Regions from separate parts of the Homo sapiens genome. Here region 1 is linked to region 2. The links are contacts of gene promoters, found by promoter capture Hi-C in human tissues and cell types (Jung and others, 2019). All regions are on one chromosome and are shown on one strand. The core of a region is centred on a gene start or on the middle of the fragment in contact, and the rest is flanking DNA. Distances in the headings are between cores, read along the strand shown.

Region 1 (7,095 bases), core at 4,032-6,531, 750 kb before region 2:
TCCTATGTGACACTCCTATTTCAAATGCTTTACATGTATTATTTCATTTCATCTCCATAACAATACTATAAAGGAAGTACCAATTCTTTTCTTTCTTTAACATACGAGGAAACAGAGCAGTGAATTTTCAGCTGGGATCCAACTGGAGGTCTGTCTCCCTTCAGAGCACGGCTCTTCCTCAATGTGAAAGTTACTATACAGAAAGTAAAAATTCTGGAAATTTTTGTTGTTGTTGTTGTTGTTTGTTTTTTGAGACGGAGTCTCGCTCTGTTGCCCAGGCTGGAGCGCAGTGGCACGATCTCGGCTCACTGCAAGCTCTGCCTCCCAGGTTCATGACATTCTCCTGCCTCAGCCTCCCGAGTAGCTGGGACTACAGGCACGAGCCACCATGCCCGGCTAATTTTTTCTATTTTTAGTAGAGACAGGGTTTCACCGTGTTAGCCAGGATGGTCTCGATCTCCTGACCTCATGATCCGCCTGCCTTGGCCTCCCAAAGTGCTGGGATTACCGGCGTGAGCCACCGCGCCCAGCCAAATTCTGGAAATTTATAACAAACATCTTAAAATGCCACTGTGATGTATGAGACAGTGTTCTTAAAGCCCAAAGTAAAACATTTTGTGGCTTAAAGCATACGTGCACATGCGTGCGCACACACACACACACAAACAAAATGGCTTGTACACATCTCAACCATATAAATGTGTAAAAACTGTTGTGATAAAAAGTTATGCAAGCCGGCCGGGCATGGTGGCTCATGCTTGTAATCCCAGCACTTTGGGAGGCCGAGGTGGGTGGATCACCTTGAGGTCAGGAGTTCAAGACCAGCCTGGCCAACATGGTGAAACCCTGTCTCTACAAAAAAATACAAAAGTTAGCTGGGCATGGTGGCAGGCGCCTGTAATCCCAGCTAGTCGGGAGGCTGCGGCGAGCGAATCGCTTGAACCCGGAAGACAGAGAGAGGTTGCAGTGAGCCAAGATTGCACCATTGCACTCCAGCCTGGGCAACAAGAGTGAAACTCCATCTCAAAAACAAAACAAAAAAAAGTTATGCAAGCCATTTAAAATGTCTTCAAATGTCTATTTGCTTTCTTAATCTAAAACACAAGGTTTATATCAGCAAGTGCCTGGAAAGTGAAGAATGGCTAAGTTGGACTGCTCTTGTTCCCTGTTAGGAGATTAGAATATGCTCCAAGTCTGTAACCACCAAATTATTTTTCATTAAGCATAAAATCGATTACTAGAAATGCTAAGATACAAATGAAAAACTACATTGTATATAAAGAACTTTTTACTTCTGTACCATTTCCCTGCCAGAAAAGAAACAAAATAGGAACACATGGTTGTTACATGGCTTTCATTCTAGTGAACTGGTTTCATCCCATGAATCTACCTCAAGTCAGCAGTCAGGATTTGCAGACTACCTCTGCTACCAATTTGCTGTCTTAATTTACACAGATTGCTTCACTTTTCAGCACCTCAGTGTCCTTACTTATCAAATGACAATAATATCTGCTCTGCCAATTTCATTCCGTTGAAATCAATGTTTGGTGACAGCAATGATGCTCTGTCTATATAGGGAATTACCATTAGTGGGCTAATATGGTGGGGTGTGCTATTTAACTGGGTGAGTTGGTAGGGAGCGATGTGTAGTGGTACTGTTAACCTTTTCAAACTGCGATTACACCAGCGTCAGCCTTTGAGCCTCATAACCACCCTGGAAATAAGTGGAACAACTATTAACAGATAAAGAAGTATAGGGTGGCTATGTGGGTAGCCTCATGTCATACAGTAAGTGAGGGACTCAGCCTAGAAATCCAATTTTCCCAAAACCTGCTCCAGTGTTTTGCTTTGTTTTTTAACTCTGCCGACTCAACGGTGTAGCCCATTGGTTAGGAAGGAGGAAGTAAGGGCTAATGGGGGCCTTCATTCTGAATAAATCCAACAAAGATGCAAACGTCCTGAGTTGATGAGTTAGGAAGTCAACTTTCTTTGCCGACCTGAAGCTTAGAGTTTATGAAATGAAACCACATACCTTGATCTCTGGGAGCTGCATAACTTCGGGAAAGACCTCGATGCAGTTGGAGTGAGCAATCACGGTGTGCATGCGCCTGCAATTCATGATCGTTGTTGGGATGGCTTTCAGCTTATTCCCACTGAGATCAATTTCTTCAAGTTCCTCCAGTTTCGCCATTTTACTAAAAAAAGAGAAAATAAAGCAATTTAAAAGAAAATAATATAGGACGAGAATCAAAGGATGAATTAAATTGCTATGACTTTAAGGATTCATTTGTAACAGTCATTTTTACAAACAAGACCATTTTTTCACTATCATTTTGGAGTACTGAAATATTTTAACACCTCCTTTCTCACTACAGAACAAAAACTATTCAACTCTTCAAATTGTCAACAAGAAGGAAAATGGATGCCCTTTTCCTCCTAAAAGTCTATGTGGAAATTAAGTTACCCTGGCAATAATCATGTTACTGTATAGCTTGGTCTGAACACTAATGAAAACACTATTTAAATGGGTCAAAAGCCAGCACTAATACAATAAAACTGCCTTAAAAGAGCTCAGAGAGTATGATTTCTTTGTAGTGGCACTGAAAACTCAAGGGGGAGGTAGAGAACAGGTCTATAGTTCATATTAAGATAAGCTTTTTCTTCAACCCTCACTCCCCCAACTCCTCTGACATCACTGATGAATACAAAGTGGTGGTAAGGAGCAAGGGGTGTGTTAAAAGCCCATTTGGATCACCTCTTGGACTTCTGGCAGAGCCCAAATTCACACCAGGGCCAAAAGACATTTATCTCAATTGTTGCTAAACATCTACCAAGAAGGAATCTCTCCAACCTTATCTTAATAATATGTTCTAATGTAATTAATTTAATACTTCTGTTTAAGAATGTCTTTTATTGTTCAATCCTCCTCATCTATAATCTTCATCAATAATTACAATAACCAACTAAAGAAAAATTCCAGAATCAGGGTTTCTTGCATTCTTTATAAATTTGAAAGAAAAAACAATGCCTCTACCTCTGCAATCACTGTAATAGTATCTGGCACTTTTTTGACCCTTTTTCCACTCCTGCTGATGTTAGACTCCAAGAAGCACAGGATTCCCCATTAGTGTGATCCAGACTCATAAGCTGAATAATAGTTTACATTTTTTGGTATTGTTTCTACCTGTTATAGTTTCATTTGTCACAATACACTTTTAAAGAATTTAACAAAAAAAAACCACTGTATTATTTTTGTCATCTTTCAAATATAAAGATTATCTTGTTTATCTTGAAAATAAATATATGCCTAAGATACAGTAAAAACTAAGTTTTTATCTTATGAAGTCAGACCTTTTAATATCATATACATCCAGTGTGGTATCAGAATAGACTACAAACAATATGTACACAGACTATGAAGTAATCCATCTATGATAGCCCGAATTTCTGAGAATATTATTTAAATATGTTATCATCATATTTTGAAAAAAATATAGTGATACGGTTTGGATTATTTGTCCCCTCCAAATCTCATGTTGAAACGTGATTCCCAGTGTCAGAGGTGGGGCCCGGTGGGAGGTGTTTTGGTCATGGGGGCAGATACCACATGAATGGCTTGATGCCCTTCCCATGGTAATCAGAGAATTCACACGCTGTGCATTCACGCAAGACCCTGGCATCTCTTTTGCCCCCTCTCTCACCATGTGACACAATGGCTCCCCTTCACCTTCTGCCATGATTGTAAGCTTCCTGAAGACTCACCAGAAGCAGATGCCAGCCCTTGTGTGCCTTGAAACTAATGGGTAATGGTGCATGAAAAATGATTAAAAGCACAGAAAACAGGCCCCCAAAAGAAAAAGTTAAAGAAATTTCCAACTCGCCACATAAAAAGAAGGTGGCAAAAGATGTGAAGACAAAATGACTAGATGGTGGTCCCGTTCTTTAATTCAGCAACCATTTAAGTGTGGGCCTTGTGTGAGATATGAGGCTGAGGGATACAGCAAGGTCACAGACCCAGCTCTTAAGGTGCTCTGGTTTGCAGGGGAGCTACTGAGCCACATCACAACCACAGGGAGACAGAATTCATTCCTAGATGGATTTTTTTACAAGGTGTGTTAAAAGTTTCTCTGCACTTAGGGTGGGTGATTACACCTGGCACGGGTCACTGGGGGTATATCCTCAGAATTAGAGCTGATGATCCTTTCCTCTGCAGGGTTTAGACATTCATCATCTGAAAGAAGACAATGAGCTCTTTCAGATAGGTTGCTGTTATGTGATTATCATGGTTTTTTCCAAAAATATCATTTCCCCATTCCATAGTGAAGTAAAAGTAGATGGAAGTAAGCATAAAATAGTTTAATTATTAATATCAAATGAGGAGGAAAGTAAATATTTCATTACACCAAAAACAGAGCAATACTTTAAGTCAACATATACACGGGCCTTCCTTCTTCAGCAAGGGCTCGAACAGACTGGTAGCCCTGAAGGCAGCAGAGGGAAGCTATGATAGTGTTTTGATTTGGCCCCAATGCTGAGTTGCAGTTACCAAGCAGAAACCAGAAGGGTTAGTGTTTGTTTCTTTGATGCGTGGGTGTGTGTTCAAGCCCTAACTTGTTAGATGGATAAAAGCCAATGAAATGGAAACACGGTAAATCCTCACGGCAGGCTCAGCACGCAGATTCACTCAAAGCTAGATATAATGTCACCGCTCACCGAAAATTAGAAATTAAAGTAAAAACAAATTAAAAATGGACTATTTTGAGAGCCAGAATTTGCAATGTTACAGTTTCTATGGTAGTAGAGTCTACCACTGCTCTGTACATCATGAATATGAATATAAAGTTTGGTAGATAATGAAGGATTTTCAGGTTCCTGGTTTACATTCTAATTCCCACATACCCTATTAGGTTAATGTTTTTGGAAACTTTATTATTTACTTTATTTTTTAATAGATAGGGTCTCACTATGTTGCCCAGGCTGGTCTCGAATTCTTCAGCTCAAGTGACCCTCCCATGTCAGCCTCCCGAGTAGCTGGGACTACAGGCACGCACTGCCACACCTGGCTCTAGGATAATGGTTTTTTAAAAAATTAATCTGACTGGTTAAAAAGAAGTAAAAGAAAAAACATACCTGCTAAACAACACATTTTATTTCAAAATCTTAAGAACATTCTTGTGATTAGGTCTTTGGACACATATGAAGAAAACCAATCTACTTCTCTTTAGGGAAATGTCATCATAGCTTACATAAAGGAAACTGTGAAGGGAGCAGGAACAAGCAAACAAACTTGACATCACCTGGGAAATAAATATTTCAGCCTTCACCTTTCTATGAATACACTTTGAGAAATGCAATTCAGAACGCAGCTTTACAACTGTCCTTTACCTTGCTGGAAAACTCTGAAGTCGGTTATAGGCCATGTGAAGGATCTTCAAATGGGGGTGTCCCGTTAACAAGGGCACACATTTGTCTGTGAGGCTGTTATTTGTCAAATACAACTCTTGTAAGATACTGTTTGTCTCTTCGGAAAGCGTGGCTGGAGGAAGGCTTTCCAGTTTGTTCGCAGAGGCGTTCAGGAATCTCAGGCTACAATGACAAAACGCAACAAAATGCCATTGAAAAGTCACAAAAACCCTCAAGAAACCTAAAAGCTTTGATACCAGGCATATTAGAAGCTGGGATCAGAAACATGAATTGAAAAGACAAGCCCTGGCTTCAAGGAGTTCAATTAGCAAGTATTTGTATCTGTGATTCACTAACTATCATGACCACAATAGCTATCTATATGTATTAAACACAGAGATACAACCAATTTTTATGGAAGCACAAAGGTAAGGGGAAGCAATTATTTTTATAGTTGGCGGGGAGTGGAAGAGAAAGTGATATGGTAAAGTTAATATTCTGACTTAAGGAAGAGAAAAACAGTTTCCTATTTTGTAATCAAAAGTTTTTGCTAAAGCAGGAGGATGCCAGGAGTTTGAGACCAGCCTGGGCAACAAAGCAAGATCCTGCCTCTATAAAAATTAGGTGAATAAATAAATAATAAATAAATGGTTCTTATAGTAATAAAACAGGTATTAGATCACAATGCAACTAAATCACATAGTGACTTGAGTCCTCTTCAGTATAAAGTCCAAAGCACATTTTACTGGCTTTCACAAGTGCAGGAGATAATTTGCTCTCTATTAAAACAACATAATATGATGTAGCAATGAGAATAAAGAACTAAAACAACATGTATCAACAGGATGAATCTCACAAACACATAATGACCAGAAGAAGCCAGATACAAGAGGAGACCCACTGCATGATCCCATAACTATATAAAGTTCAAAGTCAGGCAAAATTACTCTGTAGTAACAGAAGTCAGGATGGCAGTAACTCTTAGGTGGGGAGGGAAAGGAGGCAGTATCCAGGAGACGGCGTGTAACGTTTCAAATATTGTAATGTTCTGTTTCTTAGTCCAGGTGCTGGTTACACAAGTGTGCTCACTTTGAGACGAAGCATCAAGGGCTACACTTATGATCTGGCCTCTTTTCTGTATTTATATTGTACTTAAATAAATTTTACATTAAAACAAACAAACAAGATAATATATTGCTGCCACACTTTTCAGATGCTAGAGTGAAAAGAGGATAAAGGCCAGGCGTGGTGGCTCACGCCTGTAATCCCAGCACTTTGGGAGGCCGAGGCAGGCGGATCACAAGGTCAGGAGATCGAGACCATCCTGGCTAACATGGTGAAACCCTGTTTCTACTAAACATACAAAAAATTAGCCGGGTGTGGTGGCGGGCGCCTGCAGTCCCAGCTACTCGGGAGGCTGAGGCAGGAGAATGGCGTGAACCCAGGAGGCAGAGCTTGCAGTGAGCGGAGATCGCACCACTGTACTCCAGCCTGGGCGACAGAGCGAGATTCCATCTCAAAAAAAAAAAAAAAAAAAAAAAAAAAAGAAAAGAAAGAAAAAGAAACGTGGATAAAATATAAAGAATGGTTTTATAACTAAGATAAGTAAAATTGCCCAAAAAAAAAAAAATCCTCCACGGTGATTGTGAAATGTAGTTAAATGCACATTGCAAAGCTGGGGAATGGCAACAA
Region 2 (7,138 bases), core at 413-2,912:
TAATGCAAAGAGAAAAGCCTGCAAGGTGGTGGGATGGTGAGACAGACTGCTGGTAGAACCTGTCTGCCTTGCTCCTTGGATTTCCTGTAATTTTGGACATTACTTAAATTAAGGCATTGAAACTGAATTACATCAACTTTATCTCAACAGAACAAATTTTGTGCAGCAGAAAACCCAATTTTGGCGGTGAAAAAGTCGTCCCAAAGACAAAGGGTCTTAAGTACATCTGACTTTTCGGAGACAGCAGCAGTGTGTCCTATTCTTTCTCTCCTGGCTCAGACTCAAAGAACTACTGCAGGCAATTCAGGTAACACTATTTCCTGGTAGTGTGATTCAGGTAACTGGAGAAAAAGGAAAATGCTTAAAGCAATAAACTAGTATAAAAGGGAACCTTCTGGAGTCCCGTAATAGCCAGTGAACTAGAAACTCTTGATATTTTATAGATACTGACACCAGTAGGGGAGCCAGGAGCCAAGTGCAACACCAGCCAAGGGTTGGAAGCAGGCAGAGAGAACAGTCATTGCCTGATCCTCTTGCTTCCACCGCAAAAGAGCGCCCCCACCCCAATACTCTCGTTCCTTAAAATGTCCCTATCGGGACCCACGCAGAAATACCCCCTCTCCCCTACAGTAACTCCGTACAATCCCAAATACCCTGCCGGAGTGTGACAGGCTGCGTCCACTTACTGAGCTGTCCCCCGCCCGACGCTGTACTCGGTTCCCGACCTCCAGCGCCCCCAACGCCGGCTGCTCCAGGGACCCCTGGCGCCCCCATCCCCGGCGGGGTTCCACTTTGCCTCTCGAAGTTGCCTGGATTGGAGAAGTAGTCGCGCAGCCGAGGCAGCTCCCGGCCACTCTCTAACAGCTCGGTATGCAGCTCCAGGGCGGTCAGCAAGTATTGATCGCGCAACAGCTGAGCAGCGATCGCATCAATTGATAATCGGGCCGGGGTCTCCCCGGTGCCCCCCAGGGCCACTGCAGCCGCCGACGCCTCCCCAGGGAGCCCTGGCCGCGCACTGCTTCCTAAGGCCACGGGATCCTGTGGCGACAGCGAGCCCGCAGAGCCAGGATCTAGGCCACTTCCGGCGCCCAGCCGAAGTACTGCCCGCCGTTCCTCTGTTGCAGCTACCTCGTCATCGTCCTCATCCGAATCACTGAGAAATGGATTCACGCCGCCACCACTGCCACTACCTCCAGGCGCCATCGCCGCCATCTTATCCTGTCAGGAGTGTGGGCGCCTCCCTGACTGGTTCCGACGGGCCGCAGCCCGAATCCTCTAGGCCTCAGGGGACACAGCGCACCTCCACAGCCCCGGCCTGACCACGTCCTGCCTCCCGACTTAGAGACAAGGAGTACGCTCCAAGGCAGGAGATCCGGATGCAGCTGCACCTGATGCCTCAGCCTCTGCTGCACCAGCAGCCCGGCTCTGCAGGCGTCTTCCTGGTCTCCAGTCTCGCGAGAACTGGAGCGTGCCCCTGCCCCTCTCCCCGATCTAGCCCCGCCCCAGCCCCGCCCCAGCCCACTTCAGCTCCGCCCATTCCCAGCGCCAGATAGCAAAGATTGAAGGCCCCGCTCTCCGCTCAAAAGCAAAACTCCACCCACGACTCCTCCATGATTGGTCAGAGAAGGAAGGCGTGGAGCGGACTGACGGGAGACTGGCCCGAGAATTATCGCGATAGCAGCAGCGGCCGGGCAGGTATTGGGGGCGTTCCGGAATTGAGGGGTGGTTGTAGTGGTGGCTTAGGAATACCCTCCCGGCTATCGCTTCAGTGGGTAGAGGGGACCACTGCCCGAGAGCTTTAATGGAGCTGGGTCCTGCCTTCGCGCTGAGGAGCCCTCGTTTTCGAGATCAGGCCTGACCGGGATAAGCTCCAGGTAAAGTTCAGGGACCAGTGCGCGGAGGGTGTCGGCGCCCAAACTGTGGTGTCGCGCCCGCGGACGCGCTGTTTCCCTACTGCGCTGCACTTTTTCTCGCTATTTGCTGCCAGTGGTGACATTTTGTCCCCATGGATAGCAAGTGCCCAGGCCTGTAGTCGGAATGTGACTTCCTTTCTTTTCCCTTCTCTGCCACATGCTTGCACACTCGGGAGGCCTAGCGACAGCACGACTTCTCAGCCCCGGAGGTGGTCCTGCCTGTGGGTGGGGACGGGGGCTGGAGAGACTAAACGGAAAAGGGAACGCTGAGGTTGGCATTTGCCTGGATCTGGGAACATCGTCGAGTTGGAAAACAAATTGTTAGGTACTCAATAAACGCTTAGGATTTAATACACGATTTACACAACAGGGACCCTTCAGAATATCTAATGCTGTCTCACCAGTAGACAGATAAGTAAACTTAAGCCAAGAGTGGTTGTTATAAAATCAGCTCCACGCCGGGCGCGGTGGCTCACGCCTGTAATCCCAGCACTTTGGGAGGCCGAGCCGGGCGGATCACGAGGTCGGGAGTTCGAGACCAGCCTGACCAACATGGTGAAACCCCTTCTCTACTAAAAACACAAAAATTAGTTGGGCGTGGTGGCGCAAGCCTGCAATCCCAGCTACTCAGGAGGCTGAGGCAGGAGAATCGCTTGAACCCCGGAGGCGAAGATTGCAGTGAGCCGAGGTCGCGCCACTGCACTCCAGCCTGGGCGACAGAACGAGACTCCGTCTCAAAAAAAAAAAAAAAAAAAAAAAAAAATCAATTCCGCTAATAAGGAGTCAAAGGAATTAACATCATTTCTCTTATGTCCCAAACGATTCTTTATCCACTGTCTCCTGCAACATTTCTGACTCGTTCATGCAGGCTAGAATCAAGGTTTTGGAACTTAGAACTATTTTAAAAGTTGAATGCTTCAGAGAGTTTTGATTTTTTTGATGAAATGTTAGCATATAAAGTACATATCCTAAGTTTAGAAGATCAACGTTTATCTTTTATGTCATTCCTTGATTATGATCTGAAAAGGTAAAGGAATTTCCAGTCAATACAATTAGACTGCTATTTCTTATGGCTCCTATTTTTTTCACACACAAATGACCACTTTTCCAGGCTTTAGATTTCCTTTCTTAGTGTACAGGTAAGTGACATATTACATTCAGTGTGTAGTAAACATTCCACAGTAAAGTATCTCCCGTTAGCTCCATGGAAAAATTAAAATAGACGATTCTTACATAACCTTAGGTCAGGTTATTGGTTTACATGTAAAAGTATGCCAACAGTTAAGAGTAGGCTTTAATTTCAATATACCCAGGCTCAATAAACTAAAATTTTCATTTGAATGGGGATTTGGGTTTTTAAAATTTTATTTTTGCTAGAAGTTTAAAAAAAAAGTACCAAGAATTTAAACTATTTTTTTATAGGACATTAGTTCCCAATGTTTTAATGATAAATAGTTTTCTGTGCCATATATTAAAAGTAAAACATGGGGAAAAAAATCCCCCCAAATAGAATTGAAATGGCAAATACTGTATCCTGTTAGAGATTTCTTAGCAAAAGGGATTGCTGATCCGTATTTTAGTTGGATTTTCCAGAGAGATTAAAATGGAACCAATTTCTGGAATCCAGGAATGGAGGATTAGTGAATGGCATGGGAAGGGCATGATTAGAAATGGATTGTTTATATACAATATTTCCATCTCCATGATTGGGAAATTGAGAAATCTCCTGCATTTAGGATTCCTGAAGAGGATTATGCTTATAAGATAGAAAAGCTTAAGTTCAGATCCCAATTCTACTCATTATTTATTGTGAGACCTTGAAAAAGTTACCTAACTTCTCAGCCTCACTTGCATTCGTCTATCAAAGGGGATAAGGAAAGTACACAGAATTGAGAATGTTCTTGTCCCAGTGCCTGGTACCTGCTACACAATAACTATTACTGTGGTCACTTATTAATTATTGAAATATTAGTATGTGTTGAGAACATTTGACAAGTGTTTAAAAATAAAACTAATATCAATCGTTTTGGCAGTGCAAGCCTGAAAAAGCAATTAAGTCAGTAGGGCTGAAGGGAGTATCTTTAATTTGGGGTCTCAGTTCTAAAACACAAGTTGAAAATAGATTTAAAATGTTTCCTCAGAGTTGTAAGAACTTGCATGTAGAGGAATTCTTCCCATACAAATCTGTGGTTTTCTGCTTCTATTTCTGCCTCCTATCCTATAACCATGAACTTGTGTGTTTGATCTTGTAAGCCCATTAGAAATCAACTGCCCAGTCTTCCCAGTATGTACTTTTCTTTTCCACAATACACAGAGGTTTGGTTATTCGTGAATAATGTATAAGTAACACACACTGGAATATTAAAAATTACCGATCACTACTTATAATAATGTATTATTAATAGTGTTGGGAAATTTCCTTTCTACTTAGTAAGATTTTCATTAATCTAGGCCCTTACAACTAATGTTTCATCTGACTAATGATAGTTATTAAAGCTTGTGCCTTAGCAATGAAGATGTAAAAGATGCCTTTTTTCAAAGCACGTCAATCATTTTAGTATTTAAAAAATTATTTTAGGTTTTAATAGTCTTAAAAGAACCACAAGTAATATTCTGAATGCAAGTTTTGGTTGACTTGAGGTTTTAGTAATACCTCATGTTTTATTGTTTTTCAGTGTGTGGTAAACATCCACAGATAAACTAGATAACTTGTATTGGTACATGCATATATCTTTTTAAAATTTTAATAGTTATGTGTTTGTTTTGGAGGTATTTCTTTTTCAATAAATCTGAATAAATTGTGATTTTCTTTAAAGAGAAGTATTAAGTAATATTTAGTATTAAGCAATTAAACTAATTAAAATAAGTAGTTAGTGAATGCTGATATTTTGTAATAACTGCAATTTTATTTACATTAATAGTAAATTACTTTATCATAAAAGGTTTAGTTTTTTTTTTTTTAAAGTATTTTCAGTCTTCACATCTTGTTCTGGAGGAACAAAAACAGAAGCAGGGCATCCTCTAGTGGCTGTAGTGCATATTGCATTTACCCTTGAAATGATAATTCTAAATAATTTATTCAGCAAACATTTGAGTCCTTACTAAGTGCATAAGACTCTGATGGGTGTTGGAGATGCCCCGTCCTGCTGTCATGGAATTGTGGTGAAGTGACAGAGACAGACATTAATTCAAATAGTCGTAGACAAAGCTATGTAATTACAAACTGAAGTAAAAGTTTTCGTTTCTGACTTCACCTGCATAGTCCCTGAGGAAGTGATGCTTGAAATGGAATGTTAGGAGAGAGTGGAAGATAGGTTGCAAGTACATTCTGCAGAGAGGAATTGAGCCTACAAAGGTCTTATAGCAGTGGGATACTTGAATAAAAGAAGGGGCCAGTGATGTGAGATGTTACAAAGTAAAGGGGAGTGCTATGAGACAGGTTTAGAAAAGAAGGCAGAGGCTAGTCTATAAAAGACCTTGTTAGTCACATTAAGGATTTTAGTCTAGATTAGTAGGTGAAAAGGCACTGGAGAGTTTTTTTTTTCCAGCTGTGACTTCATTTTTAAATTTATTTTTTAATATACGATTTTATGTATTCATTGTGTACATGATGTTCTTCAGTTTATATACATTGTGAAATGCTCAAATCTAGCTAAGTAACAAATGCATTACCTTACACATAGTTATCATTTTTGTGATGAGAAATTTGAACATCTACCCTTTTAGCAGTTTTCAAGAATACAATATATCATCATTAACTAGAGTCACCATGCTGTACAACAGAGCTCTTGAACTTATTCCTTCTATCTAACTCTAATATGAATGCTTTGATCAGTATCTCTACAATTGCCCCCCGCTGTGGAACTACCCCAGCCTCTGGTTACCACCATTCTGCTTCTAATTCAGTGGGGTCAACTTTCTTAAGTTCCACATAGGAGTGAAATCATGCAGTATTTGTGTTTCTGCACCTGGCTTATTTCACTTAGCATACCAGGCTTCAGGAACATCCGTGTTGTTGCAAACGTGTCTTTTGACTTTAAAGACAGTGAATGCTTCACAGAAGGCACTGGAGAGTTTTATACAAGGGGTAAGATGTTCAGATTTTCTTTTGAAAAAAGAAAAGCAAGTAATACTCTGGCTACATGGCAAGAAATGGATCAGAGAAGGGTTAGAGTATATAGGGGTGACCTATTCCTGCATTGCAGTAGTTCGCATAAGAGATGGTATACATCTTAAATTATAGAGGTGTCAATGGAGATTAAGACAAATGAACAGATTCAAGAAACACAAAGTGGACAATTGTTAGATTAAATAAAGGGGAAGAATAGGGTGTAAAGAACAATGCCTATTTCTCAGACTTACATACTTGGTGGGAAGGTGGTGCCACCTACTGAGATTGTGAACACTAAGGATTTAGTAGGTAGTAGACAAGGCTCATGGGAAATGTTATGAATTTGGTTTTAAACCTACTTAGTTGAGTGTCTTTGAAACGTCCATGTAGATTTATAAAGGTTCGAGTTACATATGTGGATTTGGAGCTATAATTTGTTGAGGCTTTTGCATATTAGGTAATAACTGAAGCCACAGATATGATGAAACTTGCCAGGATAGAAAGTATAGAGTGAGAAGAAAAGACAGCTGAGGACCAAGTTTTGAGTAACTCCAAAATTTAGTGATCAGATAGAGACTGTTCAACATTGGTCAGAGGTGTAGGTGAAAAATGAAAGCAGTAATGTTCATAGAAGCCAAGTGATAACAGCCTATTAAAAAGGAGAAGGCAGCCGGGCATGGTGGCTCATGCCTGTAATCCCACCACTTTGGGAGGATGAGGTAGGTGGATCACCTGAGGTCAGGAGTTTGAGACCAGCCTGGCCAACATGGTGAAACCCTGTCTCTACTAAAAATACAAAATTACCTGGGCATGATGCTGTGTGCCTGTAATCCCAGCTACTTGGGAGGCTGAGGCAGGAGAATTGCTTGAACCCGGGAGGTGGAGGTTGCAGTGAGCCGAGATCGCGCCACTGCACTCCAGCCTGGGCGATAGATAGGGCGAGACTCTGTCTAAAAAGAAATAAAAATAAAAAGGAGAAGGCGACTGGGCCCAGCAACTCACACCTGTAATCCCAGCACTTTAGGAGGCCGAGGTGAGTAGATGACTTGAGCCCAGGAGTTCAAGACCAGCCTGGGCAACATGGCAAGACCCCCGCTCTACAAAAAATACAAAA

The links. Contacts are between HindIII fragments. The study calls those that stand out against the background at their distance.
Region 1: a contact is called between a fragment that was not itself captured here and the fragment with the promoter of PIGN in region 2, in 1 of the 25 tissues and cell types used here (dorsolateral prefrontal cortex).

Annotation. Positions count from the first base shown.
Region 1 is chr18:62,940,209-62,947,303 of GRCh38, reverse strand. It overlaps PHLPP1 (PH domain and leucine rich repeat protein phosphatase 1), which reads right to left. Exons shown (of 17, transcript NM_194449.4): 11 at 5,386-5,586; 12 at 2,033-2,195. Among named protein-coding and RNA genes, the nearest start is that of PHLPP1, 230 kb to the right of the region's middle. RefSeq lists an enhancer at 4,118-5,317. The HindIII fragment of the contact is 4,162 bases long and covers 3,201-7,095 here.
Region 2 is chr18:62,181,580-62,188,717 of GRCh38, reverse strand. PIGN (phosphatidylinositol glycan anchor biosynthesis class N) reads left to right here and starts at 1,662. Exons shown (of 31, transcript NM_176787.5): 1 at 1,662-1,874. RELCH (RAB11 binding and LisH domain, coiled-coil and HEAT repeat containing) reads right to left here and starts at 1,463. Exons shown (of 29, transcript NM_001346231.2): 1 at 687-1,463. The coding sequence starts at 1,212. RefSeq lists silencers at 778-997, 1,948-2,160 and an enhancer at 1,148-1,357. The HindIII fragment of the contact is 6,487 bases long and covers 1-4,048 here.